Linked DNA regions of Homo sapiens: regions 2 and 3 are each linked to region 1. The links are contacts of gene promoters, found by promoter capture Hi-C in human tissues and cell types (Jung and others, 2019). All regions are on one chromosome and are shown on one strand. The core of a region is centred on a gene start or on the middle of the fragment in contact, and the rest is flanking DNA. Distances in the headings are between cores, read along the strand shown. Region 1 holds the start of HSPA5 (heat shock protein family A (Hsp70) member 5). Region 2 overlaps SCAI (suppressor of cancer cell invasion). Region 3 overlaps MAPKAP1 (MAPK associated protein 1).

The links. Contacts are between HindIII fragments. The study calls those that stand out against the background at their distance.
Region 2: a fragment that was not itself captured here is called in contact with the fragment with the promoter of HSPA5 in region 1 in 1 of the 25 tissues and cell types used here (mesenchymal stem cells).
Region 3: a fragment that was not itself captured here is called in contact with the fragment with the promoter of HSPA5 in region 1 in 1 of the 25 tissues and cell types used here (mesenchymal stem cells).

What each region holds. Positions count from the first base shown.
Region 1 is chr9:125,239,945-125,243,025 of GRCh38, forward strand. It overlaps HSPA5 (heat shock protein family A (Hsp70) member 5), which reads right to left and starts at 1,399. Exons shown (of 8, transcript NM_005347.5): 1 at 1,061-1,399; 2 at 732-963; 3 at 228-365. The coding sequence starts at 1,182. HSPA5-DT (HSPA5 divergent transcript) reads left to right here and starts at 1,712. Exons shown (of 3, transcript NR_186826.1): 1 at 1,712-2,119. RefSeq lists enhancers at 808-887, 1,029-1,533, 1,426-1,720, 1,534-2,038, 1,688-1,997. The HindIII fragment of the contact is 17,872 bases long and covers 1-3,081 here.
Region 2 is chr9:124,978,353-124,981,620 of GRCh38, forward strand. The region is part of intron 14 of SCAI (suppressor of cancer cell invasion); the gene reads right to left. Among named protein-coding and RNA genes, the nearest start is that of GOLGA1, 39 kb to the left of the region's middle. The HindIII fragment of the contact is 5,236 bases long and covers 1-3,268 here.
Region 3 is chr9:125,522,297-125,525,407 of GRCh38, forward strand. The region is part of intron 7 of MAPKAP1 (MAPK associated protein 1); the gene reads right to left. Among named protein-coding and RNA genes, the nearest start is that of MAPKAP1, 180 kb to the right of the region's middle. The HindIII fragment of the contact is 6,094 bases long and covers 1-3,111 here.

The sequences.
Region 1 (3,081 bases), core at 149-2,648:
AATACAACATATAAAATTTTATGTCCCTGGAATTGTAAGCATTAAATAATACATGAAAAGTCTATTTTGTTTGGCTTATAGTAAGGGACTCAATAATTAAACCTGACAAGCATGAATACCATTCTGATTAAAATTTTTGAAACCCTTCACGAAGGCTTCTATACATAACAGCCAACCGAGAATACTAATGATCAAAAAATACTTAACATTGTTCTAGAAATATTTACCTTCTTTCCCAAATAAGCCTCAGCGGTTTCTTTCATTTTAGTGAGAACCATGGCAGAAATTTCTTCAGGAGCAAATGTCTTTGTTTGCCCACCTCCAATATCAACTTGAATGTATGGTTTAGTTTTCTTTTCAACCACCTATTTTAAAGAATTATTGTTTTCAGACACAGATACAATGACATCTCAAAGTTTAAAAGACCCACTACCATCCCCACAATTTGGTTTATTTTGGTCCCTTGGGGCTGCAAATTGACTAGAAATACTTCAGGGAGTATAGGTGTCTTACAAAGTTCAGTTTTAATCGGTCTTTTATTCCTAAACTATCGTAGACAGTACGACAGCAACTGTCTTAAGTTTTGTAACATACTAATAGTATTAAAGTTATTACATACATCATGTCTATAACCTTCAACTGTTGTCTCAACACTTTTCCAGAGACTTATAACTCTAAATACTCCCACCACCCACCCGTTCTCTAACTGGATGAGAAAAACCCGGTCGAACCTTGAACGGCAAGAACTTGATGTCCTGCTGCACAGACGGGTCATTCCACGTGCGGCCGATGAGCCGCTTGGCGTCAAAGACCGTGTTCTCGGGGTTGGAGGTGAGCTGGTTCTTGGCGGCATCGCCAATCAGACGTTCCCCTTCAGGAGTGAAGGCGACATAGGACGGCGTGATGCGGTTGCCCTGATCGTTGGCGATGATCTCCACGCGGCCGTTCTTGAACACGCCGACGCTGGCAGAAAAACCCGACAGAGGGACATCAGCACCGCACTTCTCACGCCAGGCCAGGCGGCCACGCCCCGTCCCCCTGCATCCGCAACCCCACTTACCAGGAGTAGGTGGTCCCCAGGTCGATGCCGACCACCGTGCCCACGTCCTCCTTCTTGTCCTCCTCCTCGGCCCGCGCCGCGCTGAGCAGCAGCAGCATCGCGGCCACCAGGGAGAGCTTCATCTTGCCAGCCAGTTGGGCAGCAGCAGGCAGTCCAGCCACAGGCCGTAGCACAGGAGCACAGCGCAATTTCCGACTTGCAGGCGGCAGGGGCCCGGGGTCACAAGGCGCCACGAACCAGGCGAAGGGCAGGTCTAGAAATACAGGCCGCGGCGCTTCCCTCTCACACTCGCGAAACACCCCAATAGGTCAATCTGTCTGTGCTGTCTTGGCCGGCGTCGACCTCACCGTCGCCTACTCGGCTTATATACCCTCCCCCAGCCCCGTCGTGGAGGCCGCCGATTGGTGAAGGCCCTGCTCGTTGGAGGCCGTTCATTGGCCCAGGCCACCAAGCTGGCCGCCGCCGATTCGAAGCGGCCCCCTCCGCAATAAACGTCACTGCTCCGCCCCCCCCAGCTGATTCATTGGCTGCTATTCGTTTCTAACGTTCACCAATGGTAGATAACATCCGCCCCATCCGCTGGTCCCATTGGTTCAGCAGCTGTCTATCTCTCCTGCGACTTCTGACCCCGAGGCATTTCCGCTGGTAACCGCACAAGTCCCGCCTTCACTCCCGGCCCTAGGGGGTCGGAGTAGGTCCAGCAGGAGTGACCCCCCGGGGCTGTGGGATCTGAAACTTTTTCTTCTCTACTGCTTGTTCTCCCTTCCTCCATCCCTCACCCCGAAGCGGGAAGCAGCTTTCTCTTCCCAGCTTCCATCCAGTCTCTGAGTAGACCAGTCGCAGCTTAGATGCTGGGATCGCCTCAGAACACATTTCTTTGCCCTTCACGGCCACTACCGGTATTGGGGTATGCGAGTCTCAGGGCCGTTCGTTGCTCACAGGTCGAGCTGGTCTGGACTCTGTTCGACCACGAATCATGACTCCTTCCTGCCAGTTATGTCCCCTCCGCACCCTTGCCCAGCCATTTTACCAGGCCTCTCCACATTGCGCTGCCCCACGGTAAGTCGCAGGACAAGCCCGGCCAAAGGAATTGCCTCCAGCTCTGAGTCCCCTCCCTACTGTGGCAACCCACTCCAGTGCCAGCCCTCCCACACTGGATGTCTAATTTTTCTAGCTTGCCACCCTTTACTTTCCCCTCCGCTGCCCATCCTTTCCCTCTGGGGCAAAGGTTATCATTTACGGGGCTTTCTCCATCCTTTATTGTTGATACTTTTCTACCTTCATTCCAGGAAAAGGTCTGATGTACACGCAGACAACACATTTGATAGGCGAAAATCGTCTTGATAATGCCTTATTCTTATATAACATCCTGTTGCAAAAAATAATAGAGACCACTATTTGCTGAAAGCCTACCGTGGATTAAGCATTGTTCAGTGTGCTTTTCATGTGTCATTTAGTCTTGACAGTTCAATACTCGGTAGGCATTTCCCGTTTTCCAGATGAGGACATTGAAACTGAAAAAGATTAAATAACTAAACAAGTCACAGAGCTGGTGAGTGATGGAGTTAGGATTGATAACCAGGTGGAGTTCACTCTATTGCCAATACTTTTTTTTTTTTCAAGACGGAGTATCACTCTGTCACGCCCAGGCTGGAGTTCAGTAGTGCAATCTCAGCTCACTGCAACCTCCGCTTCCGGGGTTCAAGCGATTCTCCTGCCTCAGCCTCCTGAGTAGCTGGGATTACAGGCACGCACCACCATGCCTGGCTAATTTTTTTTTTTTTTTTTTTGTGGAGATGAGGTTTCACCATTTTAGCCAGGCTGGTTTCGAACTCCCAACCTCAAGCGATCTGCCCACCTCGGCCTCCCAAAGTGCTGGGATTACAGGTGTGAGACACTGTGCCTGATCTCTTAACTTTAAAACAAAAAATTCATCTGTGGCCGGGCGTGGTGGCTCACGCCTGTAATCCCAACACTTTGGGAGGCCGAGGTGGGCGGATCACGGGGTCAGGAGATCAAGA
Region 2 (3,268 bases), core at 100-2,599, 260 kb before region 1:
GTCACTTGAACCCGGGAAGCGGAGGCTGCAGGGAGCCAAGATCGCACCACTGCACTCCAGCCTGGATGACAGAGCGAGACTCCATCTCAAAATTCCATTTTTACCCTATCAGTTAAGCAAAATTTCTAAAAGTTTGAGAATATACACTGTTGGCAAGAATGTGGGGAAATACTCATATGTAGGTAATAGGAGTATAAATTGATATAAACACTTTAGAAGACAATTTAACTTGGCAGCATCTATTACACTCAAATGCATATTAACACAGAAATTCCCAAACTAGAAATTTTCCCTATAGATACACTATGCAACTAATAAAATAACGTAAGTATTAAATTATTCCTTGAAGCCTTGTTAGTGATAGTGAAGGAATGGAAATAACACAACCAAATGACCAGAAATACAGGATTGGTACAATAAATTATGCTACAATAATACAATGGAATAATAAACAGCTATAAAAAAGAACAAAGAAGTTCTTTATGAACAGGTATGAAGGGTCACCAATACTTTTTTTCTTTTTTTTTTGAAACAGTTTCGCTCTGTCGCCCAGGCTGGAGTGCAACCTCCACCTCTCAGCTCACTGTAACCTCCGCTGCCCAGGTTCAAGTGATTCTTGTGCCTCAGCCTCCTGAGTAGCTGGGATTACAGGGGAATGCCACTGTGCCTGGCTAATTTTTGTGTTTTTAGTAGAGACGGGGTTTCGCCATGTTGACCAGGCTGGTCTTGAACTCCTGACCTCAAGTGATCTGCCTGCCTCAGCCTCCCAAAGTGCTGGGATTACAAGTGTGAGCCACCATGCCCAGCCTCAATACTTCTTATTAAATGAAAAAAGATATGGTGCAATGTGGTACAAGATGTTACTACTATTTATATAACTAAGAAAACTAAAGACTATTTCTTGGCTGGGCATGGTGTGTCTCATGCCTGTAATCCCAGCACTTTGAGAGGCCAAGGGCAGGCAGATCATTTGAGTCAGGAATTTGAGACCGACCTGACCAACATGGTGAAAGCCCATCTCTACTAAAAATACAAAAATTAGCCGGGCATGGTGGCGTGTGCTTGTAATCCCAGCTACTAGGTAGGCTGAGGCAGGAGAATTGCTAGAACCCAGGAGGCGGAGGTTGCAGTGAGCCAAGATCATGTCACTGTACCCTAGCCTGGGCAACAGATGAAGACTCCATCTCAAAAAATAAAAATAAAAAAAAGACTATTTGTTTTAGTTTGTATATCCATTTACAACTTTTTTTCTAAAAGGATAAGAAACAGGTAACAGTGATTATCTATAGGGAGAGATAGGAATTTAGTGCATTGGGACTAGGCGGGAGGAAGAGATTTCACAATATGACTTCTTGAAATTTTTGATTCTGTGACTTTGTGAATGTAATACCAGTACTAAAAATATTAAGCAAATAGGCTGGGCGCGGTGGCTCACGCCTGTAATCCCAGCACTCTGGGAGGCCCAGGCGGGCGGATCACGAGGTCGGGTGATCGAGACCATCCTGGCTAACACGGTGAAACCCCATCTCTACTAAAAACACAAAAAAATTAGCCGGGCATGGTGGCAGGTGCCTGTAGTCCCAGCTACTCGGGAGGCTGAGGCAGGAGAATGGCATGAACCTGGGAGGCAGAGGTTGCAGTGAGCTGAGATCGGACCACTGCACTCCAGCCTGGGTGACAGAGCAAGACTCCGTCTCAAAAAAAAAAAAAAAAAATTAAGCAAGTAATTCAGATATATTAGAAATATTTTGTAATCCAAACACAGGGAGTAAATTGAATGATTCTTTTGATAAGGCAGATTGAGGCATTTTCTGCACTACAGATCCCTAAAGATGGCTTTAGGGATCTTAGCCATGTCGCTTTTCCTCTTAGATAGTGCTAAAATGGACATTGCTATTATTTATTTCTAAAGGTCTCCTTTTTCTTTGCACTCCTTGCTAACGAACTTCTCTCCTGACTTTTTTTTTTTTCCCCCAATAATACTGTGCAGAGAAGAGTTAGCATAGCAAGCCAGACTGCCATCCTTCGAAAGTTTTGCTTATTGGGTTGGCCCCTGGCTGGCTTCTGGGAACTTAGTTTTGGTGAAAATTCCTACCATTAGCAGAACTGATAAAGAGTGGCTCGCTGTCCCTAGAATGTGCAAACAAGATGGTTTATACTGAACACCTGCTTTCCTTCTGGGAGTGTAGCATTTTGTTAAGAGCCAGGCAGAGAGTGCCCACAAGACCAGTTCCCAATAAAAACCCTGGTTGCTGAGTTCCTAATGAGCTTTGCTGGTAGATAATATTTAATCCATGTTGTCACAACTTGTTGGTTGGGTAATTAAGTGTATCCTGTGTGACTCCGCTGGAAGAGGGCCCCTGGAAGTTTGTACTTGGTTTTCTCCAAACTCACCCCACTTATCTTTTTCTTTTGCTGGTTTTGCTCTGTATCCTTTTACTGTACTAAATCTTAGCAGTGAGTACGACTATATGCCGAGTCCTGTGAATCTTCCTAGGAAATCACTGAACCTGGGAATCATCTTGGAGACCTCTGACATAAATACATGAATACCTTCTATCAGATTATAATTAAATTTTAGGCCTGAGAAATAGTTTCTTTAAGGTGCTTTACATGTGGCTTTACTCTGTTCTGATCTATTCATTAATTAATTTTATAGTTTAACTCCCATAGGATAATCTTATAATCTTTATTTGCAAGTTTTTGCAGAATATATCATAACTGCCCACACAGATGAAGTGTACGATTCAAAGCTATTAAGTTTAAGAAAAATTATAGCAAATATATACAAATGAATAAATTTGAACCAGACATAGCTCATATATAAAGTTGCTATTGAATTTTGTATGTTTGTCCTATATCTAACCACTTTGATGAATTTATATTCATATTAGTAGCTTTTCTGTGATTCTCTTGATTTTCCAAATATAAAATCATACCGTCTGCAACTAGTGGTTTTCATCTCATTCTTTCCAATATTTACTGTTTTGTGTCCTCTTCTACTAATCCGAACAACTCTTGTTATTGTTTTATTTGGGGAATGTTATGAATTTCTAGTTGGGACAAAAGTAATAGTGTATCATAATGATAGTAACAGGCATTCTCTTTTTCTTATTTTAATTGAACATACTTTTAGTGTTTCTCTAAGTACAACGTTGGCTATTTAATAAAGAAGCTCTTCATCATAGGTTCAGTGCTTTAGTTAAGAACACGTGATGAGTGTTATTAGATTTTACTAAATGACTGTTACGAAAGCATGTGATTGTCT
Region 3 (3,111 bases), core at 418-2,917, 280 kb after region 1:
CTCAAACCAGCTTTTTTTCCTTGTAACTGTGCTTCCAATGACGACACTACGATTCACCCAATGAATTAAATCAGTTGGTTCATCAAACTGTACTAAACTCCTACCATGTGCCATGTCATGAGCTAGTCACTGTAGATATGAAGATGAACAAGACTCTGCATCTGGCCTCTAAGGACTTGGCATAGTGAACACGGCACTCTCAAGTTTGGAATACTTCTTAGCCTTCCCCCTTGTTGATGACATTAAATCGGCTCCCAAGTTCTGCAGACTCTACCCACTTAATACATCTCCCTTGCATTCCTTCTCACTCAGGCCGCAGTAATGGTTTCCCAACCTTCTTCTGGCCTCCAGCCAACCACTCTTCACCCTATTGTTAGAGTGCTCTCCAGAGCCAAATTCTGGTAGATTCAAGGTATCACTTTCATACAATCCCTTCACAACTTCCTTGCAGGCTACTAGTTTAGATGCAAATTCCTTACCCCACTCTCAAGGCTTTCTATCCATCCTAATTTCTTGTCCATCTATGTCCTTTATGACCCAAACTAGACTCACTGTTCAGTGCATATATGTCCTGGTTTCCTACCTCCATGTCACTGCTGTGCCCTTCCCTTCACCCAGACTGACTCCGTCAGCTTGTCAAAATCACATCCCTCCTTTTTGATTATCCCCTAAGTCTTATCTTCTCTCCTTCTGACCCCATGATATCAGGCCCAACCAGAGTCCCAGACTGGCCTCCTTCCTTTCCCCACAATAGGGAAAGTTGCACCAGTTAACGTCTTCAAGGCAATAGGATTTCTACAATCCCCAGCCAACCAAAAACAGGGCTTCCTTTTTAAAAACTCTAGCCTTGGCCTTTACATCTCATTCAGTTAACTGTCCTTGCTCCTGGCCCAATCCTGCCCAGAACCCTGCCCTCAGGCCTGGTGCCATGCTAGGTTCCCAGTGTGTCTCTCTGAAAATCCTGCCCTGCCCTCTGATACTGCCTGCCCGCCTGGATTTCCTTGTGCATAAATCATACATTTAATTTATCTGAATTCAACCATACTTGCTAGGTAGAAAAGAGGAAAAAAAGAGGGAGACCTGACCAAGAGCACAATTTAAGCAGTTGGGAGAATTCCACTTGCCATGACTCTCAGTGATCCAATGAGCCCCAAGAGTGGGAATATGAGGCAGGAGTCCAGAAATCATCTTTGCAACTATGGAACCTTGTAAATGTGTGATAAGTGACTAACTGCATTAAATGGGTGGATGATAGTATCTCAGTCTTTCTAGACCAAGTTTGATTTTAGCATTTAAAAATATGTACTTTTAGCTGTTACGATGCTAGAGAAAAAAGCTGTGTGAATTTAATGAGAAAAATTACATTGCCTCTGATGGGCATTTTTAAAGAGATTTTTCTTTCCCACAGGTAATTTTGACAATGGGATTTTTACTCACCTGTTGCCTTTGTGATCTAACCCTGGATAAGCTGTGGCTCTTGGTACGGCCACCCCCAGGTGCTGAGCATCATCTGCTTCCCTGGTCCTTGCTGCCAGGACCTGCAGTTCCCCCGCTGTCCTTATGGCCCCCCACTGCTGACTGCCCATCTGCCCTGTTCCCTGCTGTGGGGGCCAGATCCTTCAGAGATTGGCTCCACCTGTCAACAGGGCTTCTCTCTGCCTGCCCCATCTTCCTTCTAATAACCATTGTGCCAACTGAGGTTTGTGTTTCAAGTCAGAACACAAGCCTTGGTGAGTACTTATTTATTTATTTATTTTTTATTTTTTTACGTAAGTAAAGAGGCCAGGCTTGAGGACTGCAACCTAGGAGCATAGATTTAGGTTGCCCTAAATACACTCCCAGCACTTTAATTACCACTACCCTGTCCAGCTTTATAACAGCCATTTAAGTTCTCACCTCAGTACCTTCTACTAGGTTGGTAGGACAGTGATGGTGGGGTCAAGCACTACCACCAATTCATAAGACCTTTGGAAATTACTTAAGTGCTCTAAGCACTGGTTCCTTATCTCTAAGTGGGGAATGATGATAATTTCTAACTCATGTGGTTATTATACAGATTAAATGAGATAACACATGTAAAGCACTTAGTTTGGCACATAAGTGCTCAATAAATAGCAACTATTTCTTAATACATTAATACAATTTTGCACATTTTGCCATGTTCAACTCTCAAGCTTCTTATCTTAAACAGGTAAGAAGCTGAATTATATATCCTGTTTTATTTTAAGCCAATTGTGACTTACAACCGAACATGTTGCTTCTCTTTGTGCTACAAACAAAACAAAAAGGTAAAAGCAATGGGAAAAATGGCAGAAGAGGAGACGTGGCTGTCAGCCATTTTCCTTTCTCAGAGTTTTCTTTCTTGTTAGATCTATTATCTGGGAGCTGGGCTGCCCTGCTGGCTTTCCATTTGCCTTGCTAATAACAGTAAATCCAGCAGCTTCCACTGCAGTTCCTGTCTCCTTCAGCTGACTCCCAGGCCAATCAGCATTTCCTCTCTGCTAATGTCAGATGTTCCCTGGGAAGTCCTGCTGAAAAGAAAATTTATGACTAAAGTTTCTCCAGCTTTTAACCCTTCTGCATATCCTGCTCCAGATGCAGGGTGCTCCAGAGGAAGGCTAGGTCATTCCTACACGTGCACTCCTATGTTCTTGCTGATGCTCTGCTGCTCTGACAAGGGGCCTCGGACCCCTGGAAAAGCCCAAATGAGCAGCTGCGCAGACAGATGCACACATTCTGGGCTGTACCTAATACATGGACTCAATTTGAGCTGGGTTCCTTAGCAGCTAGAGTCTCTTTTGAACTATAACTCAAAGCAGTCATATTCATACAAAAAGAGCATTAGATCACAAAATTGTGAGTCTGACTAGGTTTCATGACTGAAACTGAAAGGAGGGGACAGGACTAACATTTACTGAGTGATAAGATAATAACAGCAAAGACTTACTGGGTCCTTGGTGCTTTGCAAGGATCGCTGCTTAATTCTCACAATAATGCTATGAAGAAGACATTATTATTATTTTCATTCATAAATGAGGAAAACGAAGTTCAAACAGGTTAAGAAACTTATCAGAGAGCTAGAAAAAGTAACAGGAGGCCGGGCGCGGTGGC